Linked DNA regions of Homo sapiens: all the other regions are linked to region 3. The links are contacts of gene promoters, found by promoter capture Hi-C in blood cells and fetal thymus (Javierre and others, 2016). All regions are on one chromosome and are shown on one strand. The core of a region is centred on a gene start or on the middle of the fragment in contact, and the rest is flanking DNA. Distances in the headings are between cores, read along the strand shown. Region 1 holds the start of FKBP1B (FKBP prolyl isomerase 1B). Region 2 overlaps LOC105374329 (a long non-coding RNA gene). Region 3 holds the start of DNAJC27 (DnaJ heat shock protein family (Hsp40) member C27).

Region 1 (2,700 bases), core at 132-2,631, 920 kb after region 3:
CCTTGTGATCCGCCCGCCTCAGCCTCCCAAAGTGCTGGGATTACAGGCGTGAGCCACTGCATTTTAAGAAGAGTCTTCAGGCTATGATATAGAAAGGGAGTGAATATGAGATTGGGGACGAGATTGAAAGCAGGGAGGAGAGACTGAAGATGGGGAGATTAGCTCAGGGGCTGCTGAGGGATGAAAAGGCCTCAGGGAGATGCTTTCTGGGACCCAGCAGCAATGTTTCCTGCGTGGGCAAAGAAGCCTGTACTCCAGGGGATATCTGAAGTAGTGGCTGGGATTGGACAAGGAAGATGGCCTGGAGCCAAGAAGTTATCCAATTTCCTGGGGAGGGGAGCTGTTCATATTAATAATATCTGATATGAAGTTTGCCCATCAAACCCTGCAGACAATGGGGGCTTTGGTATTAATTAAATTTCAAGAAATAAAGAAATGGCTATTCCTTGCACACCCAGACCCAGTAATACAAGGACTTGGGAAAGTGAGACACGGAAGGGGGATAAAGAGGATCACTTAGGAGAGAAGGTGGGAAGCGAGAGTTCTGTTTTGGACTTGCTGACCAGGGAGCACCCTGGGACGTCCAGGGAGAGGTTCGGCCGTAGGTCGCAGGGCTGGGCTTAGAAGCTTCAATGTGGAGGCCATGGGAGTGGACAGGGTGGCCAGGGAGTCTGAAAGCGGCGGCAGGATAAAGCGAGATCCGGAAGCGGGCAAGGGAGCGCTTCCCCCTTCCCCAGCCTGGGTCTGTCCCCACAGCCGCTCACAGCCCGGCCCGCAGGGAAGCGACCGAGGGGAGGCCCGGCGGGGGACGCGCTAGGAGGAGGTCCCCGAGCAGCGGGTATCCGAGAGCAGGTCCTGCTTTCCAGAGCTCGCCGAGTAGGGCAGGGAAAGCGAAGCCGAAACCCAGGCTGGGGTATCAGCAGCAGCGGATAACCGAACGACTGCAGCCGCGACAGGAGAAGCCCGGGGCGGTGGCGGGCCGCAGACCCCCGCCTCCGGGCCGCAGACCCCCGCCTCCGAGCTGCCGCCTACATTCCCCTAGGTGAGCGCGGAAGAGGATGGCGGAGGATGGTCTCCTAGACCCCCAAGAATCCCGTCCGGCGTCTCCGCCTGCCTTCCCCATCCAGCCCCCCGACCCTTCAGCACCCTCCACGCCACCTCCGAATCAGACCCCCGCCCTCCGGGCTCCGCCCCGGGACCCCTCCCCTCCCCTGGCTCCGGAGGGAGCCCGGTACCGTCTCCGGGGGAGATGGTCTCGATCTCCACGCCCATAGCGGTCCCACAGGCCCCGCCTCTGGGGGGTCCCTGCTGCTGCCCGACCCCGGCTCGGCTCCGGCCCCAGCCCCGCCGTCGCTCCGGCTCGCCTCCTCGCCGCCACTGCAGAGCCGGAGGAGGTGCGGCTGGAGTCGGGACCTGCGCGGGGAGGGGCCACTGGCAAGGGGGCGGCGGGGCGGAGCCGCGCGGAAAGGTGGGGTCGGCCGGGGCGGGGCCCGGGGGAAGGGACCCCGCCCGGCTGTTAGCGAGCCTGGCCCCGCCTGACGACATTAACCCACTGACCAGGGAGCGTGGTAAGCACAACCACATCCTCCATCCATCCATTCATTCGCGCATCCGTCCAATAGACATTTATTTAGCATCTAATCTGTAGTAAGCTCTGGGAAGTCAACCCAGTCCTACAGACTTGTGGGGGGTGGGGGGCAGAAGGGGCAAAGGCCGGCGATTAAACCATCATTTTATTTTTATTTTTATTTTAGACAGAGGATCTTGCTCTGTCGCCCAGGCTGGAGTCCAGTGGCGCGATCATAGCTCACAGCAACCTCGAACTCTTAGGCTCAAGCGATCCTTCTTCCTCAGCCTCCACCCAAGTAGCTGGGACTAGAGGCGCGAGCAACCACGCCCAGCTAATCTTTTATTTTTTATTTTTATTTTTTGTAGAAACGGGGTCTCGCTGTGTTGCTATCTAATGAAACCATCACTTTAATTAGATGCGCTCAGTGCCGTGCAGTTCAGAGCGTTGCGGAAGCACAGAAGAGGTTCCTACCCTCGCTAGGCGTCCTGGATCTGTAGGAGCAGAGCTGGGGGAGGGAGGGAGGACACCAGTAATTGCTGACTCTCCCCCATACCCCTAAACCCCTGTTCTCCATCTCGTGTAGTTCTGCTCGACGCACATTTATTGGGTACTCAATTTTCAAGGCAAAGAAATGCGCCCTGGGGATACCAATAGAATTAAGACAGGTTGGCTGTCTTCCAGGTACTAAGTCTGAGAGGGACGGGGACACACAGTTACTGCATGGAGTGATTAGTGCTGTGGAATGAATGAATGAATATGTAAATGAATTCTACTTTGAGTTCCTCCTCCACCAAAAAATACATTCAGGAATCTAGAAAAATATTTTTTGGAGGAGGTAATATTTGTTTAAAGGGTAATTGGGACTTTTAAAATTTTTTCCCCCTCATTATTACCTGCATTGTTCCAAAAATTGATGTGAGGCCAAGTATATCAATTTTTGGAACAATGGCTCACACCTGTAATCTCAACACTGTAGGAGACCGAGGCAGGAGGATTGCTTGAGCCTAGAAGTTCAAGACCAGCCTGGGTAACATAGCGAGATCCCGTCTCTCTCTCTCTCCTTTTTTTTTTTTTTTTTTTTGAGACAGAATCTTCACTCTGTCGCCAGGATGGAGTGCAGTGGCACAATC
Region 2 (2,928 bases), core at 152-2,651, 570 kb after region 3:
CATCTGGGGAACATTTAAAAATTACACACATCTGGCTGGGCATGGTGGCTCATGCCTGTAATCCTAGCACTTTGGGAGGCTGAGGTGGGAGGATCACCTGAGGTCAGGAGTCCGAGACCAGCCTGACCAACATGGTAAAACCCCATCACTATTAAAAATACAAAAACTGGCCAGGCACAGTGGCCTGTAACCCCAACACTTTGGGAGGCCGAGGCGGGTGGATCACGAGGTCAGGAGTTTGAGACCAGCCTGACCAACATGCTGAAACCCCGTCTCTACTAAAAACAAAAAAAATTAGCTGGGCATGGTGGTGTGCGCCTGTAATCCCAGCTGCTCAGAAGGCTGAGGCAGGAGAATCTCCTGAACCCGGGAGGCGGAGGATGTAGTGAGCAGAGATCAAGCCACTGCACTCCAGCCTGGGCGACAGAGCAAGACTCTGTCTCAAAAACAAACAAAACAAAACAAAAATTACACACATCTAAGTTCCAATCCAAGAATTCTGATTCAGTGCATCAAGTGTGGGGTGCCTTTGGCCAAACACTATGTTTTCAGGGTATACATTTCTCCTAATCCCTTCTTCCATCAATTCTGCTTTGTTAACAGGGAAAAAGTCGGTCATGGCTATTGGTTAGGCTGCCAAGATCTGTTCAATATTATACGGTTAAATTTGGATTTTTAAACTAATGAGGAAAAAATACTTGTGTTATTAAAGAGTGACCAGAGGAACTTTCTTCTCAAGTAGGAAAAAAAAATCCACTAACTATAAAGAAAATGATAAATTAAGCCACATTAAAATTAATAACTTTGGCTTGGCCCGGTGGCTCACGCCTGTAATCTCAGCCCTTTGGGAGGCCTAGGCAGGCAGATCACGAGGTTAGGAAATGGACACCATCCTGGCTAACACGGTGAGACCCCGTCTCTACTAAAAATACAAAATAAAATTAGCCAGGCATGGTGGCACTTGCCTGTAATCCCAGCTACTTGGGAGGCTGAGGTAGGAAAATTGCTTGAACCCGGGAGGTGGAGGTTGCAGTGAGCCAAGATCGCATCACTGCACTCCAGCCTGGGCGACAGAGCAAGACTCCATCTCAAAAAAAAATTAATTAATTAAATTAATAACTTCTGTCCATCACAAAACACCATGAAGAAGGTAGAAAGGTAAGCCATGGAATGGAAAATTATAGTTATATCAAATATTCTTGAGAAAGAACTTTAAAGAACTCTTACAAATTAATTTTAATTATTTGTATTTATTTATTTATTTTTGAGACAGGGTCTCACTCTATCGCCCAGGCTGGAGTGCAGTGGCTTGGTCTCAGCTCACTAACCTCCGCCTCCTGGGTTCAAGCAATTCTCCCACCTCAGCCTCCCAAGTAGCTGGAATCACAGGCATATGCCACCACACAGGCTGGGCGCGGTGGCTCACACCTGTAATCCTACCACTTTGGGAGGCCAAGGCAGGCAGATCATTTGAGGTCAGGAGTTTGAGACCAGCCTGGCCAAAATGGCGAAACCCCATCTCTGCTAAAAATACAAAAATTAGGCCCGGCGTGGTGACTCACATCTCTAATCCCAGCATTTTGGGAGGCCAAGGGGGGTGGATCACAAGGTCAGTTCAAGACCAGCCTGGCCAAGATGGTGAAACCCCGTCTCTAGTAAAAATACAAAAAATTAGCTGGCCATGGTGGCGGGGGCCTGTAATCCCAGCTACTCAGGAGGCTGAAGCAGAGAATTGCTTGAACCCAGGAGGCGGAGGTTGCAGTGAGCCGAGATTGCACCACTGCACTCCAGCCTGGGCGACAGACCGAGACTCTATCTCAAAAACAAACAAACGACAATTAGCCAGGTGTGGTGTCATGCACCTGTAGTCCCAGCTACTCGGGAGGCTGAGGCAGGAGAATCGCTTGAACCCAGGAGGTGGAGATTACAGTGAGCTGAGATGGTACCACTGCACTCCAGCCTGGGTGACAGAGCAAGACTCTGTCTCAAGAAAAAGAAAAAATTATGATTCTGCTGGGTATGGTGACATGTACCTATAGTACCAGCTATTCAGGAGGCTGAACAGGAGAATCACTTGAATCCAGGAGTTTGAGTCCAGCCTGGGCAACATAGTGAGACTCTGTCTCTAAACAAATAAATAAATAATTCCCTTGCCATCAACATTTTTAAACAAGAGATGTCTTCCCTGTGTGAATATTAAACTTTTAAATTAGTATGAATGTTAGATATTATAAACTATGTTTTACGTAAGTGGGGGAAGTTTAAAAAGCGGCTACTGTTAAGAGAGGGCATTGTTAATGCATTAACCAGGAATAGACTACGTTATGTTACAATAACAATCCCCCAATTGTATTGCTTTAACCTATTTATTTTCCACTCACACAAAGTTGGCTGCAGGTACTGTGGTCCTTCCAGACAGCTCCCTTCCAAGCATGAGTCACATCCAGGCCAGTTCGTTCCCTCTTCTGGTTATGCCATCTCCACATTTGGCCTCGGCTGTCATTGCGGCAAGAAAAGAGAGAGGAATCAAGAATGATAAAGTGCTCTTCTCTTTGTGCTTTGTCCCAGAAGTGACACATGTCATTTCCACTCACGGCTCATTTGTCAAAACGAGTCGCATAGGCCCTCCTAACTGCAAGGGAGCTGGGGAGTCTTGGGAGCACATGGATATTCAATGACTAATAAATTACAATAAATTATATCCCTCCAGCTGTAATTGAACTTACAATGAACTCCTCGAAGTTTTTCAACTAAAAGTTATTTCCAAAACAATATAAAACCATGGTGTGATCGCCAGTATTTGAAGAAGCAGACCCTCTGCTCTCTCCCCGCTACAGCAGTTAATTTTTTAAGAAGTTCTGATACCTTCAAAACATAAAACACAGCATGGGACTTTTCTTCAACAGCTTCCTTACATTTAAAAGGAAA
Region 3 (2,709 bases), core at 204-2,703:
ACTGCTTAGTCTCAACAGCACCATACTTAATCAATCATAACAGCTGAAGATTTGACATTTTATAATTATTCTTCCACAATACCAGTTACCCTATTACAGGGCCAAAGGTGAACTGTCGAAGAAATTACATGTTTAGTAATTTGATTTATTAAATCATACTGAGAAGTTAGCATGTGGATTCTTTTAAGCTTTAAAACTATCCAAATTCTAACCAGGACTTATATTTCATATTTGTAAATAATTTTAGAAGCTTCAGTGAATTAAGTTATATTATTTGATTATCAAAACAATCCAGAATAAACTTGTCTTAAAAAAAACTTAATGTTTAAAAAACACATTTTAAAATTAAAATGTGGAAAATCTGACTTTACTGTGAAATGTTGAGCCTTTGCTCATTGCCTTCCTGTAATGCACTTCCCTTAAGATGTTTAAAGTTAGGTGAGAAAAGAAGCAATGCTACTTTTGTCTTTGTAATATACAGGGAAATTGGCAGCCATTTTTTTTCAGGGCACTATAAATAATCATTGTCAAGTTCTATTTATCTTCTGTAACTGAAGATATTCACTGAAAAAAAATTACCGTTCCTGTCAGACTGACTTTTATTCAAGCACTGTCACATTGTCAGCTAAAGGGAAGGGGAGAGCAGACGTCGAGGTCACGTTCGAAGCGAACAGCGGGGAGCTGAGGAAACTGACGTCCACAGCTCCAGCCTGGCTTAGCGTTAACACCTGCAGTAGACCAAGCCTTTCTCCCACAGAGGAGTCAACAAATCCATCAGAGATCTGTAATAGGAGGGCCAAGACTAAACACTCTTGCCTTGACTCCAAATAGACAACTCCATTTAAAATAAAAAACAATAGGAACCAGATTCAGAATCGCTTCACGCCTTGCCCAAGGCCCTCTTCCAGAACCAGGGTTCCGACCTCCCCACTTTCCTGGCTTTGGGGTCTGCCTCTCGGGGATCTCGAGCAAGGGGAACAAAATATTGGAGGGGGAAGAGGAGCAGCAGCCCGGCCCATGGAACCGAAAAAGAATCCAGAAAAAAAAAAAAACACTCCCAAACGGACGAGACACTACCAGACCCGCCCTGAAGAGCCAATACATTTCCACCACTCGGCTGCGAAAGCAACAAACGCCTCCCGTCCGGGCGTCCCTGAAAACAAGGACGCGCTCACCTCGAAGGGTAAACCCAGCCGCCCCCCAACGCCGCCTTCCCGTCAGGGGACGAGGCCTTAGAAACTCGGTAACTGCAGTCGCGTCTCCAGGGCCTGCAGATGACGTCAGCAGCCCCGCGCTAGCATCGCGAGACTCCCGTCTCCCTCCCCCGGCTCCCCACGCTCCCAACCGCCCGCGCCTGCTGCCAGGCAGCGGCGGGGATGGCGAGCAGCGGAGGCGAGGCGGTGACGAGAGCAGCGGCTCCGCCATTGGACGAGGAGGCCTGAGGGACGGGCCAGCGGTGCACAAGAAGAGACCGAGGCGGGTGGCCCCGAGAGAGCCAGGGCCATGGAGGCCAACATGCCGAAGCGGAAGGAGCCCGGCAGGTCTCTCCGCATCAAAGTCATCTCCATGGGCAACGCCGAAGTGGGGAAAGTGAGTACAGCGAGCCGGGAGGGGCGGGCCCCAGCGTGGCGGGGCGACGTGTCCATTGGCTGGAAGGGCGGCCACTCAACAGCCTGGGGCCCGGCCTCCTCTCCGCCCCCGAGCAGGCCCGGGTCTCAGCCGAGGGGTGCGGCTCCGCGAACGAAACTCCCCGACCTTTTTGACCTTTCCGTTGCCCCCTCGTCCTCCGACGTCACTCTTCCGGAGATGGTGTCTGGGGTGGCCTCTAAGCCTTGAATGTACCCCCAAAAGAGTAAGAAGGCCTGGGTCCCCATGAGGGGCCGTCGGCCTAGATACCTTGCCCGCGTTCTAGGGGGCCGTCCGGGACCGGGAGATGGAGGATGAAAGTTTAGTTCCCCCAGCCGGGCCTGGGAGCCGGCGGAACGTTATGGGGTGCGTGTGAGAATTTGGGGTTCGCGAAATGGTGCCCGGCAGCCCAGATTCTGCATTCCCGTCACGAGAGAGCGTAACTGACGTTGACGTGTTTCACAGGGGAGGTGCAAGGGATGGCCGGGGTCCGCGCTGTTTTGTTTTGCGTTGTGTTTTATTTTTGGTGGTGTCCCCATATCTGTTAGTTCCACCGCCCTTCTCTCTGCCCCATCTGTGGTTCATCAGCTATAAACTCTCCTTTAGTACGTGGGGAGGGAAGGCCAGAGGTAACCTGAGGCCTTTTCCCTTATGAATTCCAAGACGGCCTCCTCTTCACTCAAATTCTTTCCTTTTGGGCAAGTGGAATCTGTTGGTTAAGAACTTCCCAAGGTCATCAAATCAGTGACCGAGGAAAGATTAGAACCTAAGTCTTCACATTCCCACTGCGGTGCTCTTTCCGTCGTTGTATGCGTTCAAAATCAACTCCGAAAGAGCTGTTAAGGCAGTGCCTAGTCCAGTGCCTGGCACCCAGGAGATGCTCAGTAAATGTTTACTTAGTGTTTTTTATTTCTGTGTAGCATGATCCCGTACTACTTTTGTGTGTATGTGCTAGCATAGTATTCACTGAAAGTCAACATTTTTTTGAACGTCAGCTGTGTACGAGGTGTTTTTTTTTTTCTAGGGACTGGGCACGCTAGCTCAGGCCTGTAATACATCAGCACTTTGGGAGGACGAGGCGGG

Evidence for each region. Contacts are between HindIII fragments. The CHiCAGO score rates a contact against its expected background, and 5 or more counts as called.
Region 1: a contact is called between the fragment with the promoter of FKBP1B here and the fragment with the promoter of DNAJC27 in region 3, in 4 of 17 cell types (neutrophils, fetal thymus, total CD4 T cells and 1 more). The highest score is 8.0, in neutrophils.
Region 2: a fragment that was not itself captured here is called in contact with the fragment with the promoter of DNAJC27 in region 3 in 7 of 17 cell types (endothelial precursors, megakaryocytes, M1 macrophages and 4 more); the score reaches 12.1 in endothelial precursors.

Annotation. Positions count from the first base shown.
Region 1 is chr2:24,048,422-24,051,121 of GRCh38, reverse strand. FKBP1B (FKBP prolyl isomerase 1B) reads right to left here and starts at 1,381. Exons shown (of 4, transcript NM_004116.5): 1 at 1,236-1,381. The coding sequence starts at 1,272. RefSeq lists a silencer at 1,220-1,519. The HindIII fragment of the contact is 22,874 bases long and covers 630-2,700 here.
Region 2 is chr2:24,404,330-24,407,257 of GRCh38, reverse strand. LOC105374329 (a long non-coding RNA gene) reads right to left here. Exons shown (of 3, transcript XR_001739340.3): 1 at 2,866-2,928; 2 at 2,382-2,496. Among named protein-coding and RNA genes, the nearest start is that of ITSN2, 45 kb to the right of the region's middle. The HindIII fragment of the contact is 6,674 bases long and covers 1-2,928 here.
Region 3 is chr2:24,970,699-24,973,407 of GRCh38, reverse strand. DNAJC27 (DnaJ heat shock protein family (Hsp40) member C27) reads left to right here and starts at 1,453. Exons shown (of 7, transcript NM_016544.3): 1 at 1,453-1,590. The coding sequence starts at 1,504. It overlaps DNAJC27-AS1 (DNAJC27 antisense RNA 1), which reads right to left and starts at 1,296. Exons shown (of 3, transcript NR_034113.1): 1 at 1,176-1,296. RefSeq lists enhancers at 404-921, 1,133-1,212, 922-1,440, 1,423-1,532, 1,793-1,902 and 2 more and a silencer at 1,663-1,742. The HindIII fragment of the contact is 9,578 bases long and covers 253-2,709 here.